Linked DNA regions of Homo sapiens: all the other regions are linked to region 4. Evidence: promoter capture Hi-C in 16 types of primary human blood cells and fetal thymus (Javierre and others, 2016). All regions are on one chromosome and are shown on one strand. The core of a region is centred on a gene start or on the middle of the fragment in contact, and the rest is flanking DNA. Distances in the headings are between cores, read along the strand shown. Region 1 holds the start of YBX1 (Y-box binding protein 1). Region 2 overlaps IPO13 (importin 13). Region 3 holds the start of PPIH (peptidylprolyl isomerase H). Region 4 holds the start of MED8 (mediator complex subunit 8). Region 5 holds the start of ZNF691-DT (ZNF691 divergent transcript). Region 6 holds the start of DPH2 (diphthamide biosynthesis 2).

The links. Contacts are between HindIII fragments. The CHiCAGO score rates a contact against its expected background, and 5 or more counts as called.
Region 1: the fragment with the promoter of YBX1 here is called in contact with the fragment with the promoter of MED8 in region 4 in 10 of 17 cell types (fetal thymus, naive CD8 T cells, monocytes and 7 more); the score reaches 12.1 in fetal thymus.
Region 2: a contact is called between a fragment that was not itself captured here and the fragment with the promoter of MED8 in region 4, in 1 of 17 cell types (fetal thymus). The highest score is 5.3, in fetal thymus.
Region 3: the fragment with the promoter of PPIH here is called in contact with the fragment with the promoter of MED8 in region 4 in 5 of 17 cell types (neutrophils, non-activated CD4 T cells, fetal thymus and 2 more); the score reaches 8.1 in neutrophils.
Region 5: the fragment with the promoter of ZNF691-DT here is called in contact with the fragment with the promoter of MED8 in region 4 in 12 of 17 cell types (fetal thymus, total B cells, total CD8 T cells and 9 more); the score reaches 12.2 in fetal thymus.
Region 6: a contact is called between the fragment with the promoter of DPH2 here and the fragment with the promoter of MED8 in region 4, in 2 of 17 cell types (neutrophils and erythroblasts). The highest score is 5.2, in neutrophils.

Annotation. Positions count from the first base shown.
Region 1 is chr1:42,679,882-42,683,677 of GRCh38, reverse strand. YBX1 (Y-box binding protein 1) reads right to left here and starts at 1,260. Exons shown (of 8, transcript NM_004559.5): 1 at 947-1,260; 2 at 212-275. The coding sequence starts at 1,112. It also overlaps a transcript of PPIH not described here. RefSeq lists silencers at 355-504, 615-724, 915-1,114 and an enhancer at 1,555-1,604. The HindIII fragment of the contact is 3,657 bases long and covers 1-2,825 here.
Region 2 is chr1:43,948,133-43,951,860 of GRCh38, reverse strand. It overlaps IPO13 (importin 13), which reads right to left. Exons shown (of 20, transcript NM_014652.4): 2 at 1,708-2,444. Among named protein-coding and RNA genes, the nearest start is that of IPO13, 3.0 kb to the right of the region's middle. The HindIII fragment of the contact is 2,008 bases long and covers 1,266-3,273 here.
Region 3 is chr1:42,656,033-42,659,934 of GRCh38, reverse strand. PPIH (peptidylprolyl isomerase H) reads right to left here and starts at 1,512. Exons shown (of 10, transcript NM_006347.4): 1 at 1,423-1,512; 2 at 1,027-1,091; 3 at 684-707; 4 at 369-413. The coding sequence starts at 1,488. CCDC30 (coiled-coil domain containing 30) reads right to left here. Exons shown (of 21, transcript NM_001395517.1): 21 at 2,745-3,902. All of the region lies in intron 1 of LOC124904162 (a long non-coding RNA gene), which reads left to right. The HindIII fragment of the contact is 5,565 bases long and covers 1-3,902 here.
Region 4 is chr1:43,388,021-43,391,539 of GRCh38, reverse strand. It overlaps MED8 (mediator complex subunit 8), which reads left to right and starts at 1,740. Exons shown (of 7, transcript NM_201542.5): 1 at 1,740-1,781; 2 at 3,112-3,230. The coding sequence starts at 1,776. SZT2 (SZT2 subunit of KICSTOR complex) reads right to left here and starts at 1,641. Exons shown (of 72, transcript NM_001365999.1): 1 at 1,545-1,641. The coding sequence starts at 1,571. RefSeq lists a silencer at 1,321-1,650 and an enhancer at 3,091-3,230. The HindIII fragment of the contact is 2,691 bases long and covers 1-1,819 here.
Region 5 is chr1:42,844,786-42,848,320 of GRCh38, reverse strand. ZNF691-DT (ZNF691 divergent transcript) reads left to right here and starts at 1,907. Exons shown (of 5, transcript NR_186083.1): 1 at 1,907-2,064. ZNF691 (zinc finger protein 691) reads right to left here and starts at 1,708. Exons shown (of 4, transcript NM_001242739.2): 1 at 1,664-1,708. ERMAP (erythroblast membrane associated protein (Scianna blood group)) reads right to left here. Exons shown (of 12, transcript NM_001017922.2): 12 at 3,330-3,535. RefSeq lists enhancers at 1,672-1,741, 1,902-2,171. The HindIII fragment of the contact is 2,341 bases long and covers 1,852-3,535 here.
Region 6 is chr1:43,968,695-43,972,503 of GRCh38, reverse strand. It overlaps DPH2 (diphthamide biosynthesis 2), which reads right to left and starts at 2,494. Exons shown (of 6, transcript NM_001384.5): 1 at 2,182-2,494; 2 at 1,796-1,908; 3 at 1,315-1,538; 4 at 434-1,117; 5 at 170-346; 6 at 1-89. The coding sequence starts at 2,328. RefSeq lists enhancers at 1-821, 607-1,151, 1,152-1,698, 2,184-2,463. The HindIII fragment of the contact is 12,483 bases long and covers 626-3,809 here.

The sequences.
Region 1 (3,796 bases), core at 11-2,510, 710 kb after region 4:
AATATTTAGCTGCAAAACAAAGGCATTCTCTAGATCCACTAATCCCTAATCAAGGAAAACAACAACAACAAAAAATCATACTAATACACCAGAGGTAGTAAACGCCTTTCAGAACAGAGCTGTGGATTGGGGCTTCCCAAGCCCCGAGAAGCCGACAGAGCAGGAAGCAAGCAAGAAGGTGGGATGGAGGCTTCAGAGCCCGGCAGCTCACCTGTTGATGAAACCATATCCGTTCCTTACATTGAACCATTTTACTGTTCCCAAAACCTTCGTTGCTGGAAAAGAAAACAAAGCAAAACAAGCCACGATTACCAGCTATCCTTTTCCAAATCCGCCCGGCTTGGGCATCCGGTCCCTCGCACGCCGGCCGCCGCGGCCACCTGACAGCCCTTTCTCTCCACCGCCCGGGTGCGGGGCCACGCAGTCGCCGCCGCCGCCGCACACGTGGGTGAGTCTGAAGCGCGGGGCGCTCCAGGGCAGGCCCGGGGCGCGGGCCCCAGGATGGGTGTGTGCGCAGGCCGCGGACGGAGAGCACGTGAGGGAAGGGGAAGCCGCTCCGGCCTGCGTAGGCGGTGCGCCGCGCCCTCCGAGCACACGCGGAAGGGAGCTGGGTGGGGGTGACGCGAACAACGGCGTGCGGGCCCGAGCGCACGAGGCCGGTCGGCGGGGAGGGGACCCCGTCGCACACGCGGTCGGCGGCGCGCGGCCGCAGGGGGAGGGGCGCGCGGCCGCGCGGGGTCCACAGGGGGCGCGGGAGGCAGTGCGCGCGCGCCTGCCGGGCGGGTCCCCGCGAGAGGGAGTGAGGGGGGGACGGGGGGGATGGGCGGCCGCGCGCCGCGGAGTCGGTGCCCACCGGCCGCGCGCCCGCCGGCTCGCCCAGCTCCGGCTAACGGTTCCGCTGCTGGGCTGCCCGAGGGCCCCACCCCCGTCCCTGTCCGGTCCTCACCGATGACCTTCTTGTCCCCGCCGGCAGGCGCCGCCGATGTGAGGCCGCCCGGGCCACCGCTCCCTGCGCCGCTGCCCGTAGTGCCGGGCTTGGTGTCGGCGGCGCTGAGGGCGGGGGCGGCGGGGGGGGCGGCGGGCGGCTGCTGGGTCTCGGCCTCGCTGCTCATGGTTGCGGTGATGGTGACTGGGGCCGGCTGCGGCAGCTGCGGCTCCTCCCGGGGTGTGATGGTAACTAGGCCGGCGGCGGCGGTGGGGCTGCTCAGGGCTCTCTGGGGTCCGCTCTCCGCTCCCGCTACCGATCGAACTAGCGAGAATGGCGGGACAGGCGGGATAAGCCCTACGAGCGACCCGCCCTAGGCGTTGTTCACTGGCCAGTGGTACTGTCAATCTGCCCACCTGACCCCAATCCCTAGCTTCTATTGGCTAATATTTTATCAGTCCTCCATTCTCATTGGACCTTTGGCGGCTAATTCAGTCGACCTACAACCGTTCCTGCCTCCGCCGGCCGCCATAGAGACCGGAACTAGAATTAGAGTAGTCGGCCACGAAAACCATAGAGTACCCGAGAGGACGGGCAGAAGGAACGTGACTTCCACGAGGCAGCCGCCGGGCTGGCGGGCCCCACGTTCAGGGTTGTGTCTCGGCTGAAAAAAAGGCACGCCCGAACGCTGGGCAGGGATTACCCGGCCGGACCCGGGATTGGAAGGGGGCTCGAAGACGCCTTAGCCCCCCGTGAAGAAAAGGCTTCCCTCCCTCCCAGCTCCAAATACGGTCCCTGTGATCTGAGAACATTACGGCGGGCATAGAGTCGTCTTTTCTTTAATGGCCGTGTAGTCGCGGCACAGCCGAGGGTTTCTGGAATTGCCTTAAACGTATGCGTTTGAAGAGCGTACCCTTTTGTCGGAGCAGTCACCTTGGAGGGACCACGCAGGCTATGGCAGCCCGGGTTCAGCATGTTTAGGGCGAGGGTGTGCTCCATGGGGACCTGCCTTCTGATCCGTTTTACCAGGCATATATTTAAAAAAATGTGTCTTCCTTTCCAAGTATTCACATCTTTTTCTACTGACCACAAATCAGATTTAATTCAACTCACATTTATTGAACAAGCTAGCCTGTTTTGTTTTTTCACTTTATTCCTGCAACAGCCACGTGATAGAGGGATTACTATCCACGTTTCACAAACGATAAAATTGAGGCTGCCACCTGATGTTACTGAAGTCCTCCACCCACCTTCTTTCGTTCTTTTTTAAGCGTCTACTATCGGCTGGGGATGGAATAGTTCGCGAGTCAGTTTCTGCCTTCTGATGGAGGCAGAAATTTAAACAGCCAACACGGTAAATACTCCAGAGCTGCAAAACCACGAAGTATTTTGGGAGTGGAAGCAGGGAGAAGGTGGAGGGCTGACTTTCCGCGCACAGGGTACAGGCGAGAAGAGGTGAGATCTCGGGAAATGCAGTCAAGTAGTTCAGTAAGACTCGAATGTGACATTGGGTTGCAGAGGTGGGCAGTCACTTAGGTATATTTAATTGGAAATATATCCTGAGGGGAAGAGTGAGAAGAGCAATTTTAGAGTCATAAGTAGGGAGGGGCATCTTTTTAAAAATGGCTGCGGAGTGGAGAATGGGTTGCAGAGGGGCAAGGAATGGAAGTAGAGAAAGCAGTTAGGAGGCTAATGCAGTATTCCTTACCCCTACCAATGCCGTCTAGGCCTGTGAGTTCCACCTCCTAAAGGCGTTCTTGAGTCAGTCCTAAACCCTCTAAATGTCAATTCAGAGTCTTTTCATTCCTACTGTCACTACTGTAGGCCATCATCACCAATTGCTTAGAGCAAGGGGTAGGAACCTTTTTCTGTGAGAGCCAAATAGTTAATAATATAAGCTTGGCCGACCATATGGTTCTGACTTACTACTCAGGTTTGGAGCTTGAAAACAGCCTTAATTTTTACATGACACGAATCTTTACATATTTTCAACTATTTAAACATTTTAAAAACCATTTGTATTCTTAGCTCATGAGCCACAGAAAAACGGAGTGTAGTCGGCTGACCCCTAGCATAGAGCAGTGCTGTTGGCTACTAACCACACCTCTCTACCTCTTTCTTACTCTAATATTACCCACCACAACAGCCAGAAAGTTCTTTTGAGAACATCTATCTGATCATGACACTGTCTTACTTAAAATCTTCCAGTGACTACTATTACCCTTAGGGTAGTCCAGATTCCATAATGTGGTTTACTGGACTCTATGACTTCTAAGAGAAGTCTTAGAGTCTTCTCTTGTATTCCCTGTCCAACCTTCCAGGTGCTTGTAACTACTGGCTGCAGGATACTGCAGGAGCAGAGGTAGCAAACAGCTGAATTCTATGAAAATAGAAATTGGTTAAAAGTGTTGCTTCAGTGTATCAGATGACAAGGGAGATGGTGAAATATTACAAGGGCCCTACAGAATAGACACTTGCAACTCTCCAGCCAAGTAAACATGCTTCAGAGGACATCGTAGAGAAAGGACTGTCATCTAGTGGAGTCCTTTAGCCACTGTTACGTTTGGAGTATTACATAAAATTCTACATACAACACTCTTCCTTTCCTCCTTCCTCTTTGCCTGCTTAATTCTTCATCCTCTAGGTCTTGGCTCAGATGCTACTAGGTTAAGAATCCCTCCCATCTTAACACACTGTATTGCTCTAATTAAATGTTCCCCACCAGACTGTGACTTCCTTGGGCATCTTAGTGCCTGACACATAATACCTTAAAAGATTCGTTAAATGAGCGACATGGTGTAGAACATGAATTGAAAAAGGTACTGGCAGCAGAAGGGTCATCTGGGCAGCTGTGCCAGTAATCCAGGTGAA
Region 2 (3,728 bases), core at 1,020-3,519, 560 kb before region 4:
TAATAAGTGAACCATCTGGGATTCAAACTTAGATGTGACTAATGCCAAGGCTTGAGTCATCAGCCACTCTTCCATGAAGTCTCTTTCAATGGTTTTCCCTTCCAATTCTGCCAAAGGTCCCAAAGCCCCATCTCTGAAATGTCAGCATCAGGACCTCCAGTCTCACTTCTTCTAATCCAGCTCATACCAAAAGTCTCAGTAGGCCATTTTCTCTGCTTATAATCCTTTAATATCTTTATATCGTCTTCAGGATGAAGATCAAAATCTTAAACTTGGCCAAGGTCCTGCATGATCTGGGCCCAGGTCTCCTATACCTCTGGCCCTTAAATCTTGCTGTCTAATCACATCTAATGATTTACAGATCACCAGACCCTCTGGGCTTTCACCCTTCCCTTGCTTGGGCTGGAATGTCCTCCCCATCCATCACTTCCATCTGGCTAACTCTTACACAGCTGGGTTGTCACTTCCTCTGCGAATCCTTTCACAGCCCTCAGACTCAGTGAAAGCCTCCTCTGGGTTCTTCAAGGCCCCTGCGTTCTCCATCAGAGGATTCATCATGTTGATTGTACTTGCCACTCATGTGTCCACTAGACTGTGAGCTCCTGAGACTGAAGCTAAAGCATTTGTCTCTGTGCTCCCAGAGCTCAGCACAGGGCCCAAAACAGGACATGCTCAATGAACATTTGCCAAACACTTCACTACACTCACTTCTTTAGGGCCCTTGAATATATCATGATGCTGCCCACAAGTCTTTGCACATGCTGTGGTTCCTAAAGCCTAGAACAATCCACCTTCCTCCCCCAATCCCTTCCAGCCCCACCCCTCCCAACTCAGGCAACTCCTACTTTCCTCCATTCACAAAATATCAAATGCTACCATGTGCCGAGCACAATGCGACAAAGTAAAATGACAGAGTCCCTGTCCTCACAGAGGTGAGAGAAATCATGTTATGGGCTAAGAAGGAAAAATACTGGGAGCTCTGAGGTAATATAAGAGAGAAGATCAAACTTAGCCTTAAGAATCCATGGAGGACTTCCCTATGGAAATGAAGTTTAAGCTGAGGCAAGGTGTCAAGTATATGTAATGAGCCAGAGGCTGAAAGGAACATGGGACATTCAAGGAATTAAAGAAACTGTGTGAGCGTGTAGAGAGCAAGGAGAGTAGCATGAGATGAGGCCAGTGATGCCATACTGTGCAGCACCATTATGAGTCACATTAAGGATTCTGAGCTTTAACCTAAGAGCATTGAGAAGCCACTGAAAGCTTCTGATCAGAAAGATTAGATCCCCATTTTCAAAAGATCACTGTGGCTGCTGGGACAATGAAGGGTACAAGAGTGAGGACAAGCTCTACAGTAATCTGGGGAGAGAGATGATGACAGCTTGGACTAAGGTGGTAGCAATGGAAATGGAAAAAAATAGATTTGCAATATGGTCAGGAGGGGAACAGCCAGGACTTGGTGACTAGTTGAGAGAAGGAAAAGAGAGTCAAATATTTTAATTGAATAACTGATAATTAGTTGTTTAATGTCTGCCTCCCTGTCTGAACCATGAGGACAGGGACCATGTCTTCTTTGGTTCCTTGCTGTATCTCCAGCATAGGACCAGGTATCAGTACACATTCAATTAATGTTTATTGAACAGATGGATGGATGGATGTGTGGCTGGCCAAAGAGGTTGTCTTCTGGGTGAGTGGGTACTAGCTCACCTCTGGGCATCAGGCTGTGAGATGGCATTCACAATGGCCTCCACACTGCTGTCGAAGAGCTCCGAGTCCTGCAGAGCAGCAAAGGCAGCCTGAATGAGCGCCTCACAGTCCTGCAGCGGCACCTCCAGCTGCACCCAGCTGGAGAAACACTTGAGCACCTTCTGACGCACACAGCTGGGTGAGCTGGGCTGCTGTAGCAGCTGCTCCAGCAGCGGGAAGACAGCCCCACATTCCACCGCCAGGCTGGTCCGCACCAGGCCTTTGCGGTACTGGGGTAGGCGACTGGTCTGGAACTCCTCAGGCAGCACTGTCAGCAGCTCTAACAGGGCTAGGCAGCGGCCCTGCCCATCCACTGGTGAGTCCTCAGCCTGGAAGAGTCGTACCATATCTGCCACAGCACATGGCCAAGCGTCAGGCATCATGCTGAGAGCCAGTGAGGCCAGTGCCACGCACAGCCGAGTCAGTACAATCTTGGAGCCACTGGCAAAGCGGGTGATCTGGGTGAAGAGCTGTGCCTTTAGGCTTTCATACTGGTCAGTGGGGATGTCACTCCAGTAGCGAGAGATCTTGATGTGAAGAGCACTGGCCCCAAAGTACTGGATCTCTGGTACCTTGTCGGGCTGCAGTAGCTGCCAGCTGAAGTGCCAGGCCTGTGGGGAGACCTGGGCCTGCATCAGCCACTTCTGAGCCAGGTTCTTATTCTCAATGTTGGGATCATAGTAGAGCTGGTGCAGCGCCTGCAGGACAGCACAGGACTGAGCAGGTGCTGGCCACTCTGGATCCTGCCAGAGCCCAGAACAGAGGCGTGACTTGGTCCTGCAAGGCTGCTCCCTCTCCCTGACTGGGGGGCTGAGCAGGGAGAGCTCAGCGCTCTGCAGTGTTTCCTGGGCCTGGGGTCCTGCTGATATCTTGAGAGCCTGAACCTTGCCCATGCTCTACCATATCCTCTTCTCCTTACAGCAAAACATTATGGGTTCAGAGAGGGAATCTCCACAGGAAAGCAAAAAAGAGGAGGCTGATCTCCCCAAAGGGGAGGCACTTGAGGGCAAGGCCCAGGTGGAAGGAACAGCTTCACAGGGATGAAGCTAAGTCTGAGAAGGGCATGGAACAGCTTGAGGGGACTTGACCCTCCCAGGCACAGCTGCTCCCATCAACTCCAACAGCTCCTTTCAGCTCCCCCAGGATCATCCCTAGGTCAGTCCAGATGCTGGCACCAAAGCCAGTGTGAAATCAGAGCAGGACTAAGACTTTTGCCAGGCAGCCCTGGGGCAGACATGCTGGAGGAGAGGGTGAGAACACTCCTCAGAGGGCACATGTCCAACCAATTGATCCAGAGAAGCCTTGGCCATAGCTGCAGCCCTGGCAAACACCTAGCTTAGTGCTCTCCACTAGCAGAATCCCCGGGGTCTCAATTCCAACGGGACTTTATGAAGTAAGAAAACAGTGAGATTTATCTCCCAATAGCACATGGAACAGTGCGCCACCATGCCAACACTGCCCTGCTCCAAGGGGCGGAAGAGTATGGCCAGGACCCTGACCCCTAAGCAGGCTCCATCCAAGTAAGCTTAGCTCTATTTGTACCCCTGACAGCCAGTTATGGCCATTGGCCCTTGTTTGGCCCCTCAGGGACGCCAAAGCAGGCAGAAGAGATGCATCCTCATTGTTTGTTATGGCAAACGGGGGTTAAGGATAACAAGTGAACATCATTCCCTGCTTTCAAGTAAGGGAGCCCCATCTCCCCATTCATCCCAGGGTGCATGCATTCCTGCATTTCAAGTTGTAGGGAGCAGATACAGAAAAGAACCAAAGAGGCAGTTCAGAAAGATGGGCTGGGCAGTCGGGGAGCCTGGGAGGGCCATGGCAGGGAGCTATGTGGGCAGGCGAGTAGGGAGGAGCCCTGTAAGGCTCCCAGCAGGGCCAGGACCCTTGGACTCAGCACAAAACAAAGGGAGACAGCCCCAGGCCTGCCTGCTCAGGACTGGTCTGGCTTCCATCCAATAAAGGAAGGACCCTTCTCCAAA
Region 3 (3,902 bases), core at 263-2,762, 730 kb after region 4:
AATATGATTATCCTTGGACAATCATATATGATCATTTTAGGAATTAGTTATAAATATCAACCAGCAGGATATATTATATGCACTTTAGGATTACAAGTGTACTTTTTAAAAAATCTGCATTCGCACAAACAAGTGCATGAAAAAGACAAGATATTGTAAAGATGAGTAGTTTCTGTTTTAAAGACCTAAGAAGTGGGGGAGTGTAAGTAGAGTTAGAACATTTAATAAATCTTCAGTTGTTGAGTCCACAAAAACATTTCTTCTCAAGAAATGTAAGAATTACCCTCTGGTTTTATTTTCCTCTAAAGAGCCTAATCCCCCAGGAAATATTTCTGAAAGACTCCAGGATGGCTTGCCAAGAGCCTTACCTGTGGAAGGTGCTTCCTTTGTATCCTATTGGAACCCCATCTTTCCTATAACCGAAAAGAAAGAGACTTGGAGTGACAGCAGGTAGCACAAGGCCTTTCCAGTTTACCATGCACTGGAGCCAAAAGGACTCTCCTAAAGATGGTTGACAGACATAAAGAAGGCAAATAAACTAGGGACAGACCCTTGGGGCATTACCTTCTATCACTGTCACCAGCAATCATTCAAGGCCAGCAGGTGGTTCACCGATACCCTCACTGCAGCCCCAGAACACCCCTCTGGAGCAGGCAAAGAAGTCAAACACATCTGAAACTGACCTGAATTCTCCGGTGCAGAACTGCCTGAAAGGGACAAAAAATGAATGATTCAATCACTATGATGTCACAGTCGTGAGCGCCTCTAAATACGGGAAAGAATAAACACTGGAGCCAGCAAGTCCACCAATCGGCCAGCCAGACGTCCAGACACGCAGTCACACAGACTAACAACGTAAATTAACACGGGAACAATCCAAACGGCAACCAGACAGAGCAATGCATGGAGGAATCAGGTCTCAAGAGCAGTGAGCGGACGGACAGAGGTAGACAGGCTATTTCAGGCGGCTGACTGGAGCCCGACTTCTGCCTCAGCTAATCCAGCGGAGCTGGAGCACGTCCTTACCTAAAGTTCTCGGCCGTCTTAGGCACAACGTCTGCAAAGAGCTCGATCTTCATGCGGCCAACTTCCTGCAATCAGCGGGAGAGTGTCAGAAGGCCCAGTCCAAGACCATGAGGGCTTCACGGAGCAGGGGGCATGATGGGCTGACCCACCACCCTGCCGCTCGGTATCTCCCACCTCCGCCTCCCTAGTCTAACCGCCCAGTTCCTCCAGAAGCGGGGCGCTAGGATTGGGGAGACTCCTCCTCCTCCTTTCCCCCCGCCCGGCAGGTCGGTAGGTTCGGGTGCAATTTCACTTTCTGGCTGGCTTCCCGAGTCCGCTCTCTCTGGGTGAGTTCTGCCTGCCTAGCCCCGAGCAGTTTCCCTTCGGCGCAGGTGTGGGCAGCCTCCTGGATCTCACCTGACCGCCAATACTGACATCAAAGAACACCACGGGGTTAACAGGACTTGAATTTGCCACCGCCATGGCTCCGACCCGGAAGCAGAAGTCGGGAGCGTGGGATTCCGGCGAACCTAAAGCCCGGTCCGCGGATTTCGTCCGGGGAGCAGGCGCGGTAGACGTGGAGCGAGACCAGGCTCCGCCCCCGGAAGCTGTCGCCCCGTGCGGTGTGTGCTGAGACTGCTAGGGTCTAGCTGAGAGACTCTGCCTGGCACTGGGGACGCGGGAGTGAGGAGGAGGAAAGCCTTGACATCTTTTTGGTTAAGGTCAATGGTCACCCCACTCACGTGGCTGTACTAAGGGCAGTACAAGTTGATCTTGCTCTAGCTAGGACTTTTGGACTAGGCAGTCGCCAGGGTCCTCCTTATCGGCTCTTGCAGCCAAGCCCTCTGCACCGCCACACGTGCTGTCTGTCTTCTGCCCGCTAGTGTGAACACCGTGAAGGCAGGAACTCTGGTTTGTTCATCCTCAGCGTTTAGAACAGCTTGGCACGTACAGGCTTGCTAAGTAAATATCCCTTCCTCTAAGTCAGGACAATAGATAATGTTTGTTCTGCCACAAAAGCTACCAGTTTTGTCATTTCCAATTCATTTCCCATAAAGCAACTAGAGTTTTTTATTTTTTATTTTTAAAATAACTCTTGTGCTTCCTATTTATTTTAAAAATAACTCCTGGCTTCCCATATTTAGAATAAAATCCAATTCCGTGCATACGAAGCCCTACAGTGCATTTATCTGGCTATCACGTACCTGACCTCATCTTGTACCACTTGCCCTTAGTTACTGTGCTCTGACCTGTCTGTTCCTCCAGGTCACTGAGATCCCTCCTCTCTTTAGGGCTTTGTAATAGCTGTTACTTCTGTCTGAAATATTCCTTCCAGAACTTAATGTGGGTTGGCGGGGGATTGTGGGGGTTGGTTGGGGTATGCGTGTGGGAAGTAATGCTCCTTGTAGTTCAGGGCTCACCCCAGATGTTACCTCCTGAGAGGCAACATTAGACCTAATCTAAAGTAGCCCTTGGTCATTCAGATCACTGGTTTGTTTTCTTCATGCCACCCCCACTTCCACATTATCTTCGTATGGTATGTGTCTACACCTCATTTCCTGCCACACACACATAATCTTCCTCCCTGATAGCATATAAACTCCATGAAAGTAGAGACTCTCCTGGTCCTATTCGCAGCTGTAGCTGCAATGTCGCCTACTGAATAGCATATAGTAGGTATTCAATAAATAATAGATGCAATGAATTTAGTGAAAGAAGGGGACCTTGGGCAAGGCTCATTCAATATAACAGCATGCATTTAATAAAATAGTTATTATTTCCTAGTTCCTATGATCATCTTTCTAGCTCTGTTGTCTGAGAAAGCAAGGATTACATATAAAAATACAGTGTGTCTCAATGTAAAGGGTCATTTTTATTTCTGGTTACTGATCCTCTCCTCTTGGTCTCCTCCAACTGAAAAAGAAGAAAGGGGAGGAGGGGGAAAAGGAACAGCAGCAGTCACGCTTCAGTATAATTTTATACCAACTGTTTTAGAATAAATCTTTAAAATTGATAATATCCAATGTTGATGAGGTTGTGAAAAAAATAGTACATTGATAAACCTCTAGTGAAAATAAATGATGATAGCATTTATTAAGCAGTTACTACGTGCTAAATACTTTACATGCTTCATTTCATTTGGTCCTCACAACCCTATGGGATAGAGAACTATTATTGTTCCCATTTTAGGAATCAAGAAATTGAGGCTCAAGGAGGTTGAGTAACTTGACTATGAAAACAGTATGTTGACACACTTTTTATTTATTTTATTATTTATGTATTTATTATTATTATTTTTTGAGACAGAGTCTCACTTTTTGCCCAGGCTGGAGTACAGTGGAGTGGTCTCAGCTCACTGAAACTTCTACCTCTTGGGTTCAGGTGATTCTCGAGCCTCAGCCTCCCGCATAGCAGGGACTACAGGTGTGCACCACCATACCCGGCTAATTTTTGTATTTTTAGTAGAGACAGGGCTTTGCCATGTTGGCCTGGCTGGTCTTGAACTCCTGGCCTCAAGTGATCCACCTGCCTCGGCCTCCCAAAATGCTGGGATTATAGGCGTGAGCCACCGCACCTGGTCAGGCAGAACCCTTTTTTAAAGCAAAGGAAGTGATGTCCTAGAGCAATATTAACATTTATATCCTTTGACTCAGTCCAATCTTGCGAATTTGTTTTCTGGAGTAATTCAAAAGAAGAAAAGAACTACATGCACAAAGACCTTCAACACAGCATAATCTTAAATAGTAACAAAGTAAAACCAGGCCTGGCATAGAGGCTCATCCTATAATCCTATCACCTAGGAGGCTTAGGTGGGAGGATCACTTGAGCCCAGAAATTTGAGACCAGCTTGAACAATAGAGTGAGAGTGAGACCTCGTCTTTACAAAAAGTACAAAA
Region 4 (3,519 bases), core at 491-2,990:
CATGACTATTTTAAATAAGGCATAGTTTCCTACCACCATATTCAATGTTGGGTCTTACCACACCAAATCCCAGTGAACTGGAGATTTACCATTCTGTGGCTACTTTATTACTTATACCATGAACAATATGGTTAAGAACACAAGGACTGGAGCCTGGCCATCTGTTTTGGAGTCCTGACTCTAATACTTAATAGCTGTGTAACTTTGTTACTTTTTTTTTTTTTTGAGACGGAGTTTCACTCTTGTTGCCCAGGCTGAAGTGCAATGGCATGATCTCAGCTCATCGCAACCTCCACCTCCCGGGTTCAAGCGATTCTCCTGCCTCAGCCTCCCGAGTAGCTGAGATTACAGGCCTGCGCCACCATGCTTGGCTAATTTTGCATTTTCAGTACAGACAGGCTTTCTCCATGTTGGTCAGGCTGGTCTCGAACTCCTCACCTCAGGTGATCTGCCCACCTCGGCCTCCCAGTGTTGGGATTACAGGTGTAAGCCACTGCGCCCGGCTTACTTTGTTACTCTTAATATCTCTGTGCCTCAGTTCCTAAACTAAAAAAAGGAGATGATACAGTGTCCACTTCATAGGGCTGAGGATTAACTGATATTGGTAAAGAGCTTAGAATGGTACTGAGCATGCAGTATGTATGCAGTAATGAATACTATTTCTATCATTATACACATCTCTCACCCTTCCCACCTACTGATATGTTGGCACCTTTCCTGGTGGTGGTGTTTTATCCGAATCTGAGATTTTAAGCTCAGATCTTCTAACTCCAAACTGCTAGTTCCTGGATGAGTGGCATTTGAGTAAGGTACTAAATCTTTCTCATTTTTCAGTTTTCTCCTCTGTGAGAATGCCACCTTCCTTGCACAAGTCTGAATGACACAACATATATAAGGTTCCTTGCATGTTCCTTAGCATTTAACGAATATATCATATCACCTTTCTGGTTTATTACATGTGATTCTCACAACACACTATAAGACAGATATTTTATAAAGAAGGAAACAGGATCCGGGAAGACTCGCCTGAGGTTGCACAGATTAGCTACATGACAGCGCCAATATTGGAACGAGGTCTCAGTCCGACTCAAATGTTTTTTTCATGAAATTAAAGCTGCTTTTCTAAAAGCATGAGCCCTAGAACTAAATAAATTCATGCTGTTTATGGTATTCCAATGCCTAAAGAAATGCAAAAACCAGCAAAGTAAATCTACTGCCGTGTTGCCCATTGAAACTGCAACAGAAAGTCAAAATACAAGTTTTGTTAACACCGCTATAAGTCTTAGAGACGACGACGCGGGTGACATGTCAGTAAACAAAACAAAGCGAACAGTTACTCCTTTAGCTCCCCGAGGAAACTGCGGACCGCGTCCCATACACAGTCCGCAGGGGTACCATAGTCGGGCCTTCCGGGCTGGGCTGGTCCCTGCCGAGGCTACGCAGCCCGGCCACCCCCAGACCTAGAGGAGGCCAACGCCACGCCTGCCCGCCGGACCCTCCCCCTCGGATCTCGGGGCCCAGTGCTGCGCCCGCCCGCCCCTCACCTCCGGCTCCGGGCGCTCCGAGGCCATCACACAGCCCTCCCGCGCCGGCCCGGGCCAGTGAGGGTGTTCCACTCTTGACCCCTGACCTCGCTACCTCGGCACCCAGCAGGAACCGGAAGTTGGTGGGAGGGCCGAGTTCCAGTTTTCTGATTGGTGGACGAAGCCTTCTCGTAGGCGTTTGCTGACTGGAAAACCGGAAGTGAAATCGTGGCAGCCGCCTCGGCCGCCGCAATGCAGGTGAGAGTTGCGTTGGGCGTACTAGCGGCTGGCAAGCTTCGGGTACAGGGACCGAGAGTGGGCTGGCTAAGGAGAATGAAGAGTTGGGACTGAGAAGAGAGGGCAGAACCCACGGCTGATAAGGGAATGTGGGCTGGGGGGCGAGGCTAATTGGAGCGGGAGCGGCGGCGATTAGAGGTGGGGGTGGAGCTTGCCTGACAGGAGACAGTCGGGCTAAATCCGGAGGGAGGAGGCAGCACCTGTTTGCTTGGCGTGGGAAAGGATTAGGTTGTAATACGGGGAGGCTGAGATGCAGTCCAAGGAAGACGGCTCAAGAAGGTGGTGGGTTGGCTCAGGCCCTGTCCTAAGCTGCTGGATGGAGGCTGTTGGTTGCCGATATAGCAGGGGATCTAATTGGAAAGAAGCCCAAGCAGTGAGGGAATTGTGGGCCGCGATGGCTGAAAGCTAAGCAGCTTATAATCAGAGGCCATGGTGGAACCCGGGATCAAGTTTCTGTCAGGCAGGTTTGCAAGACAGTTTTGCATCCCTCTTCCCAGCCTGTGCCCTATAGTTGTTAAGGGTGAAGAAATGGAGTAAAACAGGAGACCACCGATGGGAAGGAAATGCTTTGCAGACCCCCAGCATTTTAATTTGTTTGTCCAGTGCTTAGAAGCATGTGTGGTTTTTGTTTTTCATTTGTCACTTAGTTTCTTGCAGCTGGTAGTCTCAATAAATGTTAATGGGTTGACTGAGCTTGTGAAAGAGGCACGGGAATATTGACACAGAGATAGATGATTGCATATTAATTCAGCAAGGAGAAGGTTGAAACAAAATGATGAGAGCAGATGGAAAGCTGGAGTCGTTGGTTGGGGGAGGGAAAGGGGAGAGCAGGACTGGTGTTCAGAGAAGTCTTCATGAGTAGGCAGATTTCCCAGAGACTGACAAGACAGCCAGGCTCACAGATGCTAGGATGGAGGAAGCTGGAGTGCATGTGCTACAGAGGTGCACATGAGAGAATGATCTCCTGGCATTAGGTCTGTCGAAAATGTCTCAGTGAGGGAGTGTAGGGTGTACCTAACACAGAGAAAAACCAGGCATAGATTAGGAGGTGATGGGGAAAAGGAATCAGTTGGTGGAAGGACTTGGGGTCAGGCAAACAGGTTGGAAGGTCTCAGGGTTGATGCTGTCTATAACCCAAATACCAAAGATAGAAAACAACCTGGCTATCCTATGCCAATGAGATCCTGTGTTACCTGACTGGTGTTGCACACCATCTCCTTGGCTTTCCAGCCCTCCTTTCTATGTGTCATACTCGTTTATCTGGGTGACCAACCTGTTCCTATTGGTGCAGAGAGAGGAGAAGCAGCTTGAGGCATCATTAGATGCACTGCTGAGTCAAGTGGCTGATCTGAAGAACTCTCTGGGGAGTTTCATTTGCAAGTTGGAGAACGAGTATGGCCGGCTGACCTGGTAAGAGTTACCAGGGCAAGCTAGGAAGGGCTTATGGGTGGGGGGGCCTAGCCTCCTGATGAATAGGACATTTCTAATGATGTAACCATTTATCAGTTTGCAAACATCTTTTGATTTGGAAAGAGCTGGGTTTCCTAACATTTAGCAAGTGGATTCCATGGCAAGGAAGTAGAGAAATGCTCAGTTTCCTAACCCAAGTTCTTTCTAGCTTTCAATTCTTACCCTTTGACTTCTCTGGTGAGGAGGTCCTCCCACTACAGCTCTATTCGTGCTGGATCTCTTGCCACAG
Region 5 (3,535 bases), core at 658-3,157, 540 kb after region 4:
AAGTGACAGGATGTGATCTTAATTCACGCCACCATCCCATCCCCCACCCCCTGCCCTGCTCCCATCTGACCTACAGCTACAGTATCTCTACGCAATGAGCTATTCAGCCTCCACTCACTTCCGAAACTGCTATTCTGAGAACCTATAATTTACCAAGTTCCAGCTCTACCCGGGGCTGGATGCTAGGTCAATGTAAGAGCAAAAGGATTTAGGATTATGATTACCACTCAGTTTGTGATACAGTGTACTGAAACAGACCGTGAACTCCAGAAATTGTCATACAATGCAGAAGGTTAAGTTCAGGGGACAGGGGCAGGAACTGTGCCTTAGTCACCTTTGTACCCACTCCTCAGTGTCTAACACAGCACCTGGCACATTATTAACATTTTTTTAAAGCTCGAATCAAGTGCTAAGCTGTGGACTAAGGACCATATATGAATCATCTAATTTCACTTCACATCATCCTTATTTTAGAGATGAGAAAGCTGAGGCTCAGAGAAATTAAGTATCTTGCCCAAGGGCACACAGCAAGTAAGTGGCAGAACTGGGGCCTATGCCCATCACTTCAAAGTCAGTGCTTTTAACCATTATACTATTACTGAAGGAAAAAAGGAGAGAAGACGGGAAGGAAGGAAATAAAAACAGTACCACTGAAGTTCACATGATACAGATGTATCTCCCTGATGAAATCAGGGCTGAGAAGTTTCAAGGAGGAGTAGGTATTTGACCTAAGGTTTGCAGGATGGGTAAGACTGGGACTTGCAGAGATAAAGAGGCAACTACCTACTGAGAAGACAGTGCAGCTGAAGTACAGAGGCACTTTCATATCACACTGCAGAGATCTGGGGGGAAAAGGGGTCTATTGGGCTTTGTCTTCCTGGTGGCTCAGCTGCACAGAGAGAAGCAACGGTGGAAGGGGCTGAGAAGTGGAGGAGGGGCCAGGTCTAAGAAGTTAAGAGCCAAGAAGATGGGGCTAGTGATCACAGATGATGAAGGTGAAGCGCCTAGGTTAAAGGCAAGGGGCCAAGCCATAGTGCGGTATGGAGGTCCGAAGTTACAGGTCTTTGGGGCCAAGTCAAGGGCTGCAGGGAGGAAGAGGAGAGAGGAGCTATGAAAGACCAAGAGCAAGGTGCTAACAGGGTAATTGTACAGGGAAGCTAGATAACGGGTCAGAGATACAGGAGGACCAAGGAAGTCAGAGGGTCGCAGGAGACGGTCAGGGAAGAGGAAGCAAAGGCTGCCAGAAGTGTCACAGGCCAGGGCCCAAGAGCTGAGTTGTGTGTTGCGGGGCGGGGAGAAGCCAATGGCGGAGGTCCAAGGGTACAAGAGCTGGTTTCAGAGATTGCCGGCGGGCTTGGGGCCAGAGAGGTGGGAGAGGAGGAGGGGCTGATCCTAAACGTATGGTCAGCGGCAGGAAGGCTGTATACTCAAACCCAACAGAAGGGCCGGGGAATGGGTTGGGGACAGCCACCTGGCTGCGTGGGCCGGGGGCCAGGGCGAGGGTCGCGGCGGAGGGACCACAAGGCCCCTTGGCTTCCCACTCGGTCCAGGGAGCAAAGCAGCAGCATCCAGATCCTCGGTGAGAGGGAAGTGGCCGTGTACAGAGTTTCCCGCGAAGTCGTGTCCGCCTCCCCCCGCGACCTCGGGCCCAACCCGGACCCACCTCGCTCCCGCCGCTCGATCAGGGACAGCGCCGCCTCTGTAGGCGAGGGAAGGAGCTGGAGCCGGAGCCGGAACCCAGGAAGGATCCGCCCTACTACTCCAGGATTGGTTTCTTGGGATAATTCTTTATTTCCATTGGCTACCATGACTGCCACAACGCAAGCGACCTGGCAGGACCACCAATAAGCTTTGACCGCTGGCGTGGCATGCTGGGAGTTGTAGTCCTAAGGAAGCGCGTAGACTCAGAGAAAACTTGCGAAGTTTAGGATGGAGCTGAAGAGACTGGGTTCCGTCCTACGGTGGGATTTCTTTCCGTGCTCGCGCGTTCAGCCCCAAGTCTCAGGGCCACTCGTCTGGGAAGTTGTAGAATCTGTATAGCCAACCTACACAACCTCCAAGGGGGCAAGTACTCAAATTTCCTTCTTTACTTTGAGTTGGTAATCCTTGACCGTCCTGTAGACGTCCAACGAAGCCTAGAGTCTGGCACCTCACTCAAGGTTTATAACTTAAAATCAAAGGAGGGTAGAGCTGGAAGGGAGTTTAAAGATAAAATAACCCAATCTCCTTATCGGAGAAGCTAAAAGTACCCTGTTCAAGGATCAACCTCCAGGTCTTCCAGCCCCCCTGAGCAGGGATTTTCCCGGGTTCCGCGTGCATCCCTAATTAAGCCTGACACGTGTTCGTCAATCCAGACACAACAAGATCACCAAAGTATCCAGGACTAGGTCTTTTTTTTCAGGTTTTATTTTTTAAAATAATAAAAGGCTAATGAAATACGTAAACTACAGGCTTCTCGTATCTGCACAATGTTTCAGTGCAAAGAACAAGGAGCATTGCCTTCAGAGCTAGATAAACCAAGTATAAAACTCTGGCTCTACCACCTAGCCATTTGGAGTACCAACTCCCTCCCCCATAAAATCCCTGGCAGAATTACTGTGAGGATATTATATATACATACATATATTCTCATGCATGTGTATGTGTATACATATATACATATATATGTATGTATGTTTTATATAGTTGTAAGGTTATAATACATACATATATTGAGGTTATTTCTTGATGACATTAATATTCAAATCAGTAGACTGATATGTATGTACATATATACATGTATAATACACATACATGTGTATATACATATACTAATGTATACATGTGTATATACATGCATACATGTGTGAATATGTATTATACATACATATGTATATATGTGTATACATATACACGTGCATACATGCTAAATACATATACATATATATACACCTATGTAGTACAGATATGTATATACACATACATGTATACATGTGTATATGTGTATGTATGCATATGTGTGTGTATATTATATGTATATTCATGTATGTATGTGTATATGTATGCATGTATTCTGCCTCCACAAGCTGACAATGTGAGTTAGTTTTAAGATTGGGATATTCAGGAATGCATGTTTGGAACTGAATATGGTTGAGTGAAATATGTGTGCCTTATGAACACTATTTGTTTATAAATTGATAAAATAAAATACTAGAGAGCAGACTCAGGAATAAAACTATGGCTTTAGTATGAACGGTGGCTAAACCTTGCCTTGGGGGACTCAAAGCTCTTTGGAAACCAATCTCTTACCTTCCCCACAACTCCTCATTCACAATGAAAATAACAGCATACCAAAACACAAATACCAAACTTTTATTTTAAAACTGTACAAAAGCAAACAAAAAATTCCACTGAGTCACTGTGATAGTTAATCTTATGTATCCACTTAACTGGGTCACAAGATGCCCAGCTATTTGGTCAAACATTATTCTGAGTGTTCCTGTGAGGGTGTTTCTCAATGACATTAACATTCAAATCAGTAGACTGAGTAATGCAG
Region 6 (3,809 bases), core at 1,245-3,744, 580 kb before region 4:
CCCTCGTCTTCCACTCACAGCTTCTGTCACTGGCGTCTGACCCAGGCGGGGCTCCAGCCCTTGCCAGCTCCGGGAACTAAGGAATGAGGCTGTAGAGGGAGGGGGCTCAGTCTGAGTGCGCTGCATCTGGAGAAAAAGCTCAGCTGGGAGTGGAGACTTGTACATTTACCTGCAGGACTGCTCTCAGCCAGCTCCAGCTGGGGCCGTGGGGTCAGAGCCAAGCTTCCATGATCATTTGATGACTTCCAGGCAGGTGGGGGTCGGAGATCTCCAGTAATGAGTGACACGTCTGGGGTTTCCCACAGCTCTGACTCAGGTGGTGGGAGAGCCACGTGGAAGGGAGAGCCTGAAAGGGAGGAGGAAAGAAAATCCATACTCACCCCCTGACTCCGTGCCCCAGGTTTCCAGCTTAGGCAATGCCCCCACTACTCACCAGGCAATAAGTCCGCATAATGTGTGAGGTGGGGAGCCAGGCCTGGAGGTGGCCAGGCAGGGTTGCAGGCAGCTTCCAGCTCACATGGTGCCAGTATAGGCTGGAAGAAGCTACCAGAAAGCTGGGGGGCTAGAGCACCCAGAGGACAGGCTAATAGCACAAAGACATCCACCTCAGGGAAGTTGGCAAGCTTGGCAGGGGTGGGCCGCCCCAGGGCCAACACATAGCTACGCTTGCCAGCAGCCTGAGTCAGGTTCCGCAAGTGGGCCAGTGCCTCACGGTGTTGGGCTACACCCAGTGTGCCTGCCAGCAGCCCTACCACGCGGGCATCTCTGGCCCTCTCTACCAGATATCGTCTTCGTGCCCTTAGCCGTCCAGCCCGGGCACCCTCATCCTGAGTCTTCCCTGTATCTGGACAGCAGGAGGAGAAGGGTTGACCTGGTGCCCACCCCAAGAGCAGCCGACTCAGGTCTGGGTCAAGGTCTGGGTCAGGGCTGGCCTTAGAGCCCCCTACATAGAAGGCACCATACTCTTCTAGACGCCTCCCTGGGGCAAGGGGGAAGCGGCGCCCAAAACGCTCTAGGGGCATAGGCTCTGGACTCAGGGAACCCACTGGTTGGGGAAAAGCTGGGCTGGAGACTAGCAGGTCCAGGTACCGTGGGCGCAGGAGAGTAGCCAAAGCCTCTGGAAGAGAAGGAGGTAGTGTTGAGGTTGGAGCCTGGCAAAGCAGGAGCTCCCTCATCCCCAGGAGACTAAATATGACCCAGTAGGCTGGGGCCAAGCCCATATCAAGAGTTCTATGGATGGTATATGGAAATGGGGAAATTAAGGCATAAAGCAGTTGGCTCACCCTTTGTGCATACACAGGCAAAACCCCTTACCCAGGGCATGGGCACAGGCCGGCTCACTCAGCAGCACCACAGGCGCTTTGGGGTCTGGGTTCTGGGCCTCAAAGGCCTTGACACAGAGCTCCAAGGCCACAGAACGTTGACGAAGCACGAAGGCAACGGGCAGTGGGCGGGCTGGAGGGCTTAAGCAGGCAGGGCCAAAATGTATGAGAGCCTGAGCTCCAGCTTGCTCAGCACCCAGCACATCCACGCAGCAGCTGCAGGGAAGATAGCATCAGAGAAATGGGTTCTCTTCTGGAGGCGAGTTGCTGTCATCACTGGGAAATGTGGTCAGTGAATAAAATGGTTTCATTAAAGGAAGACATTGTCAATGAAAGGAGCTAGCATCAGAAGGGGAGTCATTACCATTATCATCAAGGAGAAACACCACCATTGAAGGCAATCACTGTCATAGACGTAAAACCCCATGAGCCCCGGATCCCCAGGCCTGGCCCACCTAAGGCCAAGTTCACACCTGCCGTAGGCTGTGTCACCCAGAATGAACATCTTTGACCCTGTCGTCTCCTCCAGTCGTGCAGCCACAGCCACAGCATCTCCCAATAGCTGGTCAGGGAACTGCAAGGCAACCTATAAGCATAAACCATGGAGTCAGGGACAGCCTCTCTCCCACTGAGGGCTTCTTTAAAGCAATCTTCCAGGAGCTCCCACTCAACCTTCAAAGCCCCTGGTCCCAGAGGGGCACTCTGCCCCACGTAGTAGGTGGAAGGGAGGGATGGTCAACGCGCTGCGGACAGACTGATTCCCCCACCCTCTCGCCCTCACAAAATCCCCCAAGATCCGGATCCTCTGGGCGACCCATCCCGACAGAGGCGAGCCACCCTTCCCTAAGTCTGTCCTCACTCGTTCACACCCCAGGTCGCGGACAAATCCAGCGACTCGCTCCAGCTCGTACACTCCGTCCAGGTCCGGAAGAGGAGTAAGCAGTCCTGGCACCCCGGTCTCTCGCTGCAGCGCCGCCTCGGCAGGGCTGCTAAACATCGACTCCATGAGGCACAGCTTGGGTGGTGGGATGCAGCGGGGACCTCCCTGGGACAGCTTCGGGGCCTGAGTCCTCTAGAGCAGCCCTCAGGGGGTCAAAATCGCCTTGTGGGGGTAGGGGGAATCACAGTCGGCCTTCAGCCGGTGAGTATCCCCTTCAGCCATCCTAACTACTGTTTCTCCGCTACACGTGGGACTACCGGGGAGGTTACTTCCGGGTTTTAGAGGCGTGGCTGATAGCGATTTTGCCAATCCTAAGTCAGCACAGCTCCCGCCCTCCAATCCCCGCCACCGCCCCGCACAGAGAACCAATGTTCAGCCTGAGTCCCAGGCCAGCCGGAAGTACATCGAGGAAGGCGCGGAGCCTTGTGGGCATTGTAGTTCCCCTGGCCTCCTCTCGGGCGCTGGGAGTCCGGTTCAGCCGACCCGCGGCCATCAGGAACACCGACTTCACTGTTAAGCATTTCACGTGCACTCTATCCTCTGGGCAGTATCACTGCATAATTCTTTCATTCATTCATTTTTTTTTTTTTTTGACAAGGTCTCGCTATGTTGCTTGGACTGGAGTGCAGTGGCGCGATCTCCACAACCTTCACCTCCTGGACTGAAGCCATCCTCCCACCTCTGCCTCTTGAGTAGTTGGGGCTACAGGCGCACCACCACATCCAGCTAATTTTTGTATTTTTTGTAGAGACAGGTTTTTGCCATGTTGCTCAGACTGGTCACAAACTCCTGAACTCAAGCAATCCACTCATCTCGGCCTCCCAAAATGCTGAGAGTACAGACGTGAGCCACCGTGCCCGGCTACACTGCATAATTTTAAACTTGGTGCCGACCGGCTCGGGTTTGAATATTGTGCTTGGTCACTTGCTACTGAGTATCTTAGGAATGTCCCTATGCCCATTTCCTTATCTGAAGAATGGGGAGTTGTGACAATAGTACCTCTTAATAAGATTGTTGTGAGGGTCTAATTAATTTATATACAAAACTTTACAAAGTAGTTCTTTGGATATCGCATGCAGTGAAAGCATTTGCTATTTAATCAGCCAAATACTGAGCACTTACTGTACATTAGGCACTTCATTTTTAGTGTTTACAGTCTTTGGAGTAAGAATTATCCCGAGTGGTACCAAGGACATGACTGGCACATCCTCAAGTCACAGGAGATGCTCTGCACAGCTCCAGCCATCCTCAAACACTGCTGCTTCCCAGCAATACCCCCAGTGCATACCACATAGACCTCTACCCTCCAGCCCCTCACATCCCCTCTACTCCCCATGTTTACTTATATGCAAACACCCCCACATGCAACATCACTTGAAATGCCCTCCTTACATACCTCTGTCAGATACGGAAACTGAGGTTCAAAGAGACTACTTGTGTAATAAGACACTAATTCTGTGGCACAACCAGCATCAAACCCGGATCTATTGAACAGGGAAGGAGTGGGATGAATGTGGGAGTAACGAGTTCCCCATCACCCACAAGGA